Regions from separate parts of the Homo sapiens genome. Here all the other regions are linked to region 1. The links are contacts of gene promoters, found by promoter capture Hi-C in blood cells and fetal thymus (Javierre and others, 2016). All regions are on one chromosome and are shown on one strand. The core of a region is centred on a gene start or on the middle of the fragment in contact, and the rest is flanking DNA. Distances in the headings are between cores, read along the strand shown.

What was found. The method cuts DNA at HindIII sites, captures the fragments that hold promoters and counts their contacts. A CHiCAGO score of 5 or more calls a contact.
Region 2: a contact is called between the fragment with the promoter of LRRC59 here and the fragment with the promoter of ANKRD40 in region 1, in 1 of 17 cell types (M0 macrophages). The highest score is 5.1, in M0 macrophages.
Region 3: a fragment that was not itself captured here is called in contact with the fragment with the promoter of ANKRD40 in region 1 in 1 of 17 cell types (M2 macrophages); the score reaches 6.9 in M2 macrophages.

The regions. Positions count from the first base shown.
Region 1 is chr17:50,706,179-50,709,889 of GRCh38, reverse strand. It overlaps ANKRD40 (ankyrin repeat domain 40), which reads left to right and starts at 1,976. Exons shown (of 5, transcript NM_052855.4): 1 at 1,976-2,369. The coding sequence starts at 2,236. RefSeq lists silencers at 2,031-2,240, 2,371-2,640. The HindIII fragment of the contact is 9,335 bases long and covers 1-3,711 here.
Region 2 is chr17:50,395,853-50,399,563 of GRCh38, reverse strand. It overlaps LRRC59 (leucine rich repeat containing 59), which reads left to right and starts at 2,041. Exons shown (of 7, transcript NM_018509.4): 1 at 2,041-2,351. The coding sequence starts at 2,247. LRRC59-AS1 (LRRC59 antisense RNA 1) reads right to left here. Exons shown (of 2, transcript NR_199069.1): 2 at 1,007-2,348. RefSeq lists a silencer at 1,995-2,064. The HindIII fragment of the contact is 2,181 bases long and covers 763-2,943 here.
Region 3 is chr17:50,962,143-50,965,853 of GRCh38, reverse strand. SPAG9 (sperm associated antigen 9) reads left to right here. Exons shown (of 30, transcript NM_001130528.3): 30 at 1-3,680. Among named protein-coding and RNA genes, the nearest start is that of TOB1-AS1, 97 kb to the right of the region's middle. The HindIII fragment of the contact is 1,352 bases long and covers 1,191-2,542 here.

The sequences.
Region 1 (3,711 bases), core at 727-3,226:
CGGTGGCTCATGCCTGTAATTCCAGCACTTTGGGAAGCTGAGGCGGGCGGATCACCTGAGGTCGGGAGTTTGAGACCAGCCTGAGCAACATGGAGAAACTCCGTCTCTACTAAAAATACAAAAAATTAGCCAGGCATGGTGGAACATGCCTGTAATCCCAGCTACTCAGGAGGCTGAGGCAGGAGAATCGCTTGAACCTGGGAGGTGGAGATTGTGGTGAGCCGAGATCGCGCTGTTGCACTCCAGCCTGGGCAATGAGAGCGAAACTCCTCCATCTCAAAAAAAAAAAAAAAAAAAAAAGAACTCATAGACTTTGGGGTGCAGTCACGAACAATTTTTTTTAACTGCATTAAAAACAAAAAACAACAACAACAAAAAAACAAAAACAGGCCAGGCGCGGTGGCTCATGCTTGTAATTCCAGCACTTTGGGAGGCTGAGGCTGGCAGATCACATGAGGTCAGGAGCTGGAGACCAGACTGGCCAACATGGTGAAACCCCATGTCTACTAAAAATACAAAAATTAGCCGAGCATGGTGGCACAGGCCTGTAATCCCAGCTGCTCGGGAGGCTGAGGCAGGAGAATTGCCTGAACCTGGACTTAGAGGTTGCAAGGAGCTCAGAGATCGCCCCACCGAACACCAGCCTGGGCAACAGAGTGAGACTCTGTCTCAAAAACAAGCAAACAAAAACAACAAGCCACTACCTACTCCCATGTCACTGAAATTGTGTTGAAGGACTCAAATCCAGTGCCATACACATCAGTTTCAGATAGAGTATCATGCTGGATGTGAGAATTAAAATTTAAATTGGGGGAACAAATGAAAATGTAAGCTCAAGCAGGGTTACAATTTGCCATGGGGGTCAATTTAAGTGTGTAGTCAGTTTATATTCAGCACCACCTGGTGTGCACTGTGTACTGTGTGAATTACTGTATCATACTAAACAAACAGACATTGGTTTTTCTTAAACTGTAGCAAGAAAAATGCTTGCTGTGCAGATCCCAGCAGCCCCAAGAGACGGAAATGAAAACTCCATGCCTAAATTTATCCCTTCCTATTTCATCTCTCCTTGTTCAGGCCTTCCTCCCTTCCTCCCCAGGGCTATTTCCTTAATCTTGACCCCATCTGTAAAGTTCCATCCTGTGCCACATCGGAGGATCTCTTCAGGGCACCTGGGCTCAACAAAACAATATTTCCTTTTTCTCCCACTGGGTATAAAACAGTGCCAACTGAGGCTCTGAGCCTCATTAGATAGATCGGGCAAGAAGTGAAGCAAAATGCTGTTTACATGTACACCACAGCTCTTCCCAGAGCACTTGGAATCAGGACCAGGACACCTCCAAAGCCTCTTTGGTGTTTTTCCTTTCTTTTCTCCTTATATGGCCTTCATGAAGAGTAACTAATTACAATCTGTAAGCAGTAATTACAGTTCATAAACTGTGAGCACAATATAAATATTTTTCCTGAAAGCCAGGTTAGAAGAAATCCTGTCTAAAATGAGATGTAAAACAACAACAATTGAAATAAATATTCTAACTGAATTGTCCCCAAGCACTGTCAAAAAGAAGAAGAGTCTAATCTATCTCTGTAATAATGGGCGTATTATAGTAGGATCGTTTTCAGCCCATTTCCCCATCCTGCTGGGCACGAATTGGCTCAGATAAGGAAAAGGAGCCAACCAAACTGGGGGAAAATAACAAAAAAACCCCAAATCCCAATAAAAAGAACCCACCAATTATTTTGGATGCCTGGTAAACAGCCTGCACCAGAGGATAAGGCTTTTCTGGCCCTCAGCTATGCTTTTTTCTCTTTTCATGTGTCTTGTCCTCCTCCCTTGAAACTGCGGGGTGGGGAAGTCTAAAAATAGTCAATGAATCATGGCATATAATATTGTGCAGTAGTTACATAAACAGCCAGCCCGGGCGCCGGAGCCCCGGGTCGGAACGGAAAATATCTGGGTCAGCGTTGTCACACTGAACAGGGTCCCCCGGAGCCGGCCTTCGGGAGGCGCGGCCCGGGAGGAGGCCTGGGCCTGCGGGCCGGGAGCAGCAGGGGCGGCCCGCGGGAGGGAGCGGAAGTCCCGGGGCGGGCGCGGGCAGCGGCGCGAGCAGGGCGGGCGAGTTCCGCGCTCCCTCCCCATGGCCGGGAGCGGGCCGCGGCGACGGCGGCGGCGCTGACAGGCCCCGGGCGGGGCGGGGCAGGCGGGCCTGGGCGGGGGCCTGGGGCTGTGGGAAGATGAACGCCCTCCTAGAGCAGAAGGAGCAGCAGGAGAGGCTGCGGGAGGCCGCGGCCTTAGGGGACATTCGGGAGGTGCAGAAACTGGTGGAGAGCGGGGTGGATGTGAACTCCCAAAATGAGGTCAACGGCTGGTAAGTGGGGAGCGGGGGAGGCCTAGGGTCAGGGCAGCCGGTCGGAAGGCGTGGGGCAGTCAGTCGCGACCTGGGCCCAGCGCGGGACGCCTGGCTACGGCGAGGCCTGCCACCTCGGGCCTCCGAGATTGTGCTCTCTTGAGGCCAGCCCTGGCCCCCATGCCTCGTGCGGTCGGGAGCGCGTCCTGCCCAAATCCCGGCCCACGTGGTCCACTCGGGGCAGCGCCCACTGGGACTCTGGTGCCCTACCCCCTTCCCCCGCGCTCCCGGCTCACTTGGTCAGAGCGGTGCTGGAGGCAGTGATTCTCAGCGACTATGCGTTGGAGCTCACCCCAATTCGAGTGTTGAGTTAATTTGCCGTAGGTGCTTCTGGAGAACGCATCTTGCAGAGCTAAAAGCATAAGCAACTGAGCAAATATGAATTTTATAAACTAGCACGATTTCCTTAGCCAAGACCAGGAAAAAAAAACACATTTGCATCACCATTCTGCTTCTCTGTTGTTTCACTGCAACCGATTTGCTGCTGCTGCCTGTAGTTGCCTGTTTGAGGGAAAACTCATTTGTTTATCCTATCGATTATTTTCTTTCTTTTTTTTTTTTTTTTTTTTTTTTTTTTTGAGACAGGGTCTTGCCCTGTCGCCCAGGGTGGAGTGCAGTGGCATAGTCTCGGCTCACTGCAACTTCTACCTCCCCGGCTCAGGTGATCCTCCTGCCACAGCCTCCCAAATAGCTGGGAATACAGGCACGCGCCCCCACACCCGGCTAATTTTTTTTTTTTTTTTTTTTGGTATTTTTGGTAGAGATGGGGCCAGGTTGGTCTCAAACTCCTGGCCTCAAGTGATCCACCCGCCTCAGCCTCCAAAAGTGCTGGGATTACAGATGTGAGCCTACCGTTCCTGGCCAGTTTTCTTATTACAATTTCAAATACAGAATGTCACCCAAGACTTTAGATGTCTGCCTGCAGATTGAATTCTTCCCAATTAAATAAGGAGTCTCATCTTAAGATGTTGCTGGTGGTCAAAACAGAAAGTTACTGAATGTGGCATTATTCCGCTCTCTGCATTTAAAATTTAAAATTTTGATTCAGGTAATGCTTAGCCAGACTATTTTGCTAGCTTAGAGTTAAAGTGAGTAGCACTTTGGGAGGCTGAGGTGGGCGGATCACGAGGTCAGGAGATCAAGACCATCCTGGCCAACATGATGAAACCCCGTCTCTACTAAAAATACAAAAATTAGCTGGGCGTGGTGGTGCATGCCTGTAGTCTCAGCTACTTGGGAGGCTGAGGCAGGAGAATCACTTGAACCTGGGAGGCGGAGGTTGCAGTAAGCCAAGATTGCACCA
Region 2 (3,711 bases), core at 792-3,291, 310 kb after region 1:
ACAGGAGGTAAAGAAATAGCCAATCATCTATCGCCTGAGAGCACAGGAGGAGGGACAATGATCGGGATATAAACCCAGGCATTCGAGCCGGCAACAGCAACCCCCTTTGGGTCCCCTGCCATTTTATGGGAGCTCTGTTTTCACTCTATTAAATCTTGCAACTGCACACTTTTCTGGTCCGTGTTTGTTACGGCTTGAGCTGAGCTTTTCCTTACCGTCCACTACTGCTGTTTGCTGCTGTCGCAGACCCGCTGCTGACTTCCACCCCTCTGGATCTGGCAGGGTGTCTGCTGGGCTCCCGATCCAGTGAGGCGCCCATTGCTGCTCTGGATCAGGCTAAAGGCTTGCCATTGTTCCTGCGTGGCTAAGTGCCTGGATTTGTCCTAATTGAGCTGAATAGAGCTATAACACTCATTGCATGGCCCAAGATTCCATTCCTTGGAATGCGTGAGGCCAAGAAACCCAGGTCAGAGAACAAGAGGCTTGCCGCCATCTTGGAAGTGGCCCGCCACCATCTTGGGAGTTCTAAGAACAAGGACCCCTGCCACCCACCCCCCGTAACAATTGCACTTACTTTATTTGGTGTTCATAGTTTCCCTCTGAGACAAGATTTTTTATTTTTTATTTTTTTAGAGATGGGGTCTTGCTATGTTGCCCAGACTGGTTTTGAACTCCTAGCCTCAAATAATCCTCTCATCTTGGCCTCCCAAGTATTGGGATTACAGGTGTGAGCTATCCTGCTCGGCCCCTCTGAGATAAGCTTTAATATCCCTATTTCAAAATGAGTAAACTGAGGTTTGGAGTGGGTAAAGTGCTTCCTTCCTTCATTCATTCATTCATTCATCCATCCATCTATTCATTTATTCAACAGACATCTGAATGAGTAGCTACCCTGCATCAGGGTATGCCAACTCTGGGCATACGAAGATGATTAAGACAAAAATCCCTGTCCTCACAGTCCAGAATGAAGGACAGACACATAAAGATGAGTATAATACAAGGTGGATCATGAATTGTAGCTAATATTTATTGGGTACTTACTAAGTGCCAGTGACTGCTGTAAGCTCTTGGTGTGTTTTACTCCTTCAGTTCTCCCCAACCTCTGTTAGCTACATGTCTCATAGATTGATTCATAGATAAGACTGAAGCCTGGTGATTGTCTACGGTTTTATAAGTAGCAAGTGGCAGAGCCAGGATGAATACCCAGTGGATAGGTATTAGTGCCAGAGGTCCCACTTGGCCATCAAGCTCTACTGTCTCTGATGATAAAGTAGCAAACAGGGACCTAAGTTGGTTGGGGGGGGCGCTAACTCAGTCTGGCATTCACGGTGTTCAGGGGAGATTTCCTGAAGGACTAAGGAATTAGCTAGACAGAGGTGAGTGGGGGGGAGGGAGGGCCATCGCTGGGGAGGGCCAGACGTGGGAGCCACCTCCTGGAAATCTACACAGCATCTAGGCCAGGCAGGGACTGGAGCGTGTGAGGAAGCTGCGAAAGCAGGCAGGACCCAGCTTCCAAAGGAAAGTGGTCCGTATCCTAGAGGTAGCTGCAAGTTTGAAGGGTTTTACGTAGGGGAGAGACTTGGCCAGATTTTTAGAAAGATCACCGGGGAGCTGGGTGAAAGTGGATGGAAGGACAGAGACAAGCACTGAGGCAGTGAGTGGGGAGGAGAGAGGAGAAATTCAGGAAGAAGAGTTTTCCCCATGATGGTTATTCGGGGGTTAAGTAGAGGACAGGGAGCAGTTTTAGAGGACACCCAGCTTCTGCTCCTAATCAGGGGGATTGGGGTGATCTGATGAGGTCAGTATTGGATGTCAACCCAGTCTTCTGGCGCCCAGTCCGTGCCCTTTCGCCTCGTGGCACTGCCAGCAATAATGCCCGCGGGCCACGGGTGAACGTGAACCGAGCTCGCAGCCTCCAACCCCACCCCTCCGGCGGCGGCGACGTGCAGTGCATCACCCTGGGCACCAGGGGGCGTGCCCGCACACGCTCGGGCCGCTCTGGCCCAGCCCATCTCAGTGGTCGCGGAAGGTGACGTGGACACGGAAGTGGTCGTCGTCGCGGCACCGGTGGGAGCTAGGCGCGAGGCTCGGAGTGCGGCCAGCGGGCGGAGGCGGTCTCGCATCGGCGGCGACGGAGGGCTCAGGCGTCGTCGTTTGGGTGGGGGGCCGCTGAACTGACAAGCGACATTTCAGCTCCTTTCACCCGCCGGAACCCCGGAGCCGGGGCCCGCTCAGCCGGCGTTACCATGACCAAGGCCGGTAGCAAGGGCGGGAACCTCCGCGACAAGCTGGACGGCAACGAACTGGACCTGAGCCTCAGCGACCTGAATGAGGTCCCGGTGAAGGAGCTGGTCAGTATCGTCCCGCGAGGCCCAGGCGCCCACCTTCGCCGGGCGCTGGCCCCTACGTGGGCCACTTACTTTCCTCTTCTCTAAAAGCATCAGTTTCCTTTTCTTTAAAAAGAAGCGGGGTGGTGGGACTAAGTCCCCTAGGAGGCCGCGTCCAGCCCAAGGTTCTTCCCGGGATGTACACGTGTCACTTTGGCGCAGTTCCAGAACATAGGGAAGATCTGCTTCTCTGGCCCTAGGCTTTTTACAGGCTAAGAAGCGAATCTGTCACCTTTGCGGGGCTTTCACAGCGCCCACCTCCGTGCCCGACTCTGAGTAGGAGCACACGGAGCAGTTACTGGATGTATTCGAGAATGAATGAGTGACTTGTTCCAGGGGAGTAGGCCTCCTGGTAGACCTGGGTGTGGCCCAGAACCTGGCTCTTCTAGGAAGCTGGCAATTCCAGCTGGCTGCCCGAGCCCTGAGGCAGCCTAACTCGAAGAAAGTAAAGTCTCCCCCCAGCTTGGCTGGTAAACTGTCATCTGAATTCCGCTGAAACTGGCGGGAGTCCCTTTCGCCCCTCTCTCCCCCAACCTTTCCCCTGTAAACTGAAGCTTACAGCTCCAGAGAGATAGCAGGCATCTAGTTTTGTCAGCGTGGAGCTAGTTCCCACATCCCTCCTTTTCCCACTCCGTTCCCCCTCCCACCCGCGCCAACGCCCTACTAGACTCACTTTGGGTGACCCACACTTTGCTTTCTGCCGTTGATAAATTACATTTGCCTTGGGCGCTGGGCCCAGTCTTTCTTCCACCGTGGACGGGTATTACAGTGGTTAGAACCGGGTTCCTAGCTCCTCCCAGCTCCATTGCTTAATAGCCGAGTGCCCTTGGCAAGCTAGTTAGCCTTTATGCCTAGATCTCCTCATCTATACAATGGTGATAATAGTTTCCATCTCATACGCTTATTGGGAGGTTAAATACCATTGTAATGGAAAATGCTTGGAAGGAGCAAATACTGATACTTGTAGCTGTTGTTGTGTTTTTCCCGCTGTAGTATTTAAAACTTTTTTAGGTGGTCAAACTTCACTTTTACGACTTTGTGACAGAAAGTGCAGGTTGCCAGAGGATCCTTAACTGAATATATGCCTCCTTTTCTACCCCAGGAAGATAGATGGCCAGCCTTATTTCACCCTGCCCTAGGACTGCTCTCTGAAACCATATACTCCAGGCATCTGAACAGTCCAGCATTAACCTTAGGGAGAAAGTTTTGCTGAGCTTGTCCAGCCTGGACACCATGGGAAAATAGAGATGGGCTGTGAGGGCCTTTTTTTTTTTTGGATGATGGAGTTTTGCTGTTGTTGCCCAGGAGTGATCTCGGCTCACTG
Region 3 (3,711 bases), core at 617-3,116, 260 kb before region 1:
CAGTGTATTGTAAAATTGACACACACTAATACAAGATGGATTATCAGGATGTATCTAAATGTCCCGAGAGGGTTAAAAGCTAACTGTAAATTACTTTAACTTTCACTTTCAAATCTGACAAATCTTGTTTATATGGTATATAAAACTTTGTTTTCATCAGATTTGGGGGGGTTTTATATTAAAGAAATTAAGACTACACTATTTAAATAAACGTTTCCTGTTTCTGACTTATTAGAGCTCTAAAGTTTATGAGGCCTACTTCTCTGAATATTCTGATGGGTTTTTTTTGAGACCAGTCTCATTTTCATACTGACATGTCTGAAAGATTTATTATTTATAAAGCTTAGGACATACTCTGGGAAGCTTAGAAGATACTTCAGCACTGGGAGGATTTTTTAAAGGAAATGTGTTTTGTATTTCTTGTACCAGAGAATGGTGATGTTGATTGAGTTTTTTCCATGTAAAAAATGTACTTGTTTGCCAAATGTTCCTAGATTGCTCTTAACCTGTTAATACAAGTAAAACTGTAGTGGGGATGGAGTCTGGCCTAAGTACAGAATGAGGGATTTAATTAGAAAAGTTATTTTCTTTTGTTCTGTATCAAACTGCAGAACAGCTATATACTTGGTATTTTGTACGTGAATAACGTTTTAGCTTTTGTGCCCTTTTGAGCTTGAAGGGTTATCCTCAAAGGGGAAAACTATGAAGGGGAAGAAGACAAACCTAAGATACCATAAAGTAAAGGTTGACATTACATATTTTCATTCACAATGCCCATTAAAAAAAAAAAATAGGTTGGGCATGGTGGCTCACGCCTGTAATCCCAACACTTTAGGAGGCTGAGGCAGATGGATTGCTTGAGCCCAGGAGTTCAAGACCAGCCTGGGCAACATGGCGAAACCCTGTCTCTACCAAAAAAAAAAAACAAAATAAATTAACCGGGTGTGGTGGCACATGCCTGTAGTCCCAGCTACTTGGGAGGCTGAGGTGGGAGGATGACCTGGGCCCAGGAGGTGGAGGTTGCAGTGAGCCTTGATAGCACCACTGCACTCCAGCCTGGGTGACGGAGCAAGACCCTGTCTCAAAACAGACAAACAAGCAAAAAATAGATTAAAGTCTGGATTTCACTGATTTTCTTGCTTAATAAGTTTTTTAAAACCACGATGCTGCAATTTTTTCCCTCTCAAGCTTCTTGAAAATGTGTGATTTACCCTTTTTTATCTATTACTCTAGGCAAAGCTAAATATGATTTTTTTTTTTTTTTTTGAGACGGAGTCTGGCTCTGTTGCCCAGGCTGGAATGCAGTGGTGCGATCTCAGCTCACTGCAACCTCCACCTCTCAGGTTCAAGTAGTTCTCCTGCCTCAGCCTCCCAAGTAGCTGGGATTACAGGTGTGTGCCACCCTGCCCAGCTAATTTTTGTATTTTTAGTAGAGACAGGGTTTCACCACATTGGCCAGGCTGGTCTCAAACTCCTGACCTCAGATGATCTACCCGCCTTGGCCTCCCGAAGTGCTTGAATTACAGGCGTGAGCCCCCGCGCCGGTCCGAAGCAAAGCTAAATGTAATTTTATGTACTGTTTTAACAGTATAAACCTATGGGATAAAGGCCCCCAATCATCAGAAGGACTACTGAAAAGAAAAGAAAGCAAACGTAGATGTCAAATTGTCTAAACATTCTTAAGTACCACTGATTTTTTTTTTCTGGACTATTATACAAAGATGTCTGTAAAAAGTATACCAGTGGCTTTTATGCATATACACGATTAGGCTAGATTGTGAAGTACATGGGATTTCATGAGCCAGAGGAGGCATTTGGATCCATTGGGCCACATGTGACTATAAGCACATTGTGTACACAATAAAATTGTAGCCACTCATGTATTAAAACTGTTTTGGTAAAAGCTGTATTAAAAGAATAATTTTTTGCTTGAGCTACTTAGTCACTTTTTTGCAGGGCACCAAAATGTAGGCTACTTTTCCATAGCTTGTTTGCTATGTTTTTATTTCATCTTAAATCTGAGCCATTTTTGGCAATATCTTTTAAAAAATCATTATTAAACATTTATTGGAAATGTTGTATAGATTCACAAGAAAGAGACACCAAAGTGTTTGGGAATTTTAATCCCAAGAAGTAAACATCCCAGAGTCAGATCCCATTTGCTGTTGTTCAGCCATGTTTGTATGACTGAATGTAATTTAGGAAATCAGGAGTTAGAGATGAAAAATACAAACATGTCAAATGGTTGTAATTGCTTTTTTTGAACTTACTGGCTTTAACTTAAGTAATATAGGTGTGTAGTTGTTTTATCTAAAGATGTCAGATTATCTGTGGCCCTGTTAATTAACTGCAGGGACCAGAGAGAGGACAAAAATGCCTGTATAATTTGCTTTAAAGGCTTGTCCTTATGTTTGTAATTTCAGTTAAATATTTTCTACAGATTGCTTCACTTCCCCTTTCCCCCAATAACAAGTTCATATTCTTGTAATGTTTACTTTGGTCAACGTGGTAATTTTTGGAAGAAAATGCCAAAATGTAAGCTTCTCACAAGCAGCAAAGGAATGTAACTGCCTGTAGCTACCACATCAAGGGAGAGAAGAGGCTTGCGTACTTTGGGTTGATCTCACTGTACAAAAAAAGTGTACCCCTATTGGAAGAAATAAGGAATACTTGAAGGTTTCTCCTTTTTTTACACTTGAGTCATGTGCAAGGTTGAACCATATGAAATTGCCAGTGTTCAACCATTGCTGATCTGCAAAAGCGACAATATCATATGCCTCAACCTAACACTTACTCTTAAATGCAGGTTAAAATCTCTGTGAGGCAAAGGGATAATATTCTCTAGGAACTCACTTTTGAGAGTATTTTTCTCTAACCCATGTGGATCTAAATTTTAAAAATAGGAATGAATCTCTTAATTGCAGCTTGTGGAGAGTATAAAACATTTTGAGCACAATATGCAGCACATAACTTTTCAGATTGTGTTTGCATAGAAAAGGTTAAAATCAATTCTTTCAGTTACTGTATTGTTCATTTCTTGTAAAGGTCTTCCTACATTTGAGACGAGACCCTTTAACATAGGCTGCCTTAGTAACAAAATAAAACAGATGTGTCATAATATTAACTGTCCTAAAGAACATGTGTCTTGCAAATGCCATGGAACTGAATATTTATTTCCTTGTGAGTATTATGACCGTTACCAAAGGACTCAACCAGATTTAGGGCTCTTCTTAATTGATCATGTTCAGAAAGGGACTCATTTGGTCCCACTTTGTAACATGGGAAGAGTAGAAGAGAAAATTAAATGTGGAAATCATAAATGCTTTTCTAACAGGGTTATGCTATTCTGTAACACTAAATGTCTGTCTTTTCTCTTAAAAGATTAAGTTTTATTAATTTTGTCATACATTTCTCTATTTGAATATATCTTAACCATTTTATGTTCCAAATTCGTTTTTTGTCCAAGACATTCTATCAGAATTTTACTTGCCTCTATAATCTGAAAAATGGGTTCTAGAATGTCCCACTTGCTGTCTCTTAGAGGCTGAGCTTCATTTCTATGAGCAAAGAGCTCATTTAGCAATGTAGTTATTTCAGTATTTATTTCTATTATGGAATCCCTGGGGTTCAGAATGTAACTTTGTACATGAGATATATATAAATATGTATATGAACATGTATGAGGTCTAGTGTGTTTTGTTTTGTTTTTAC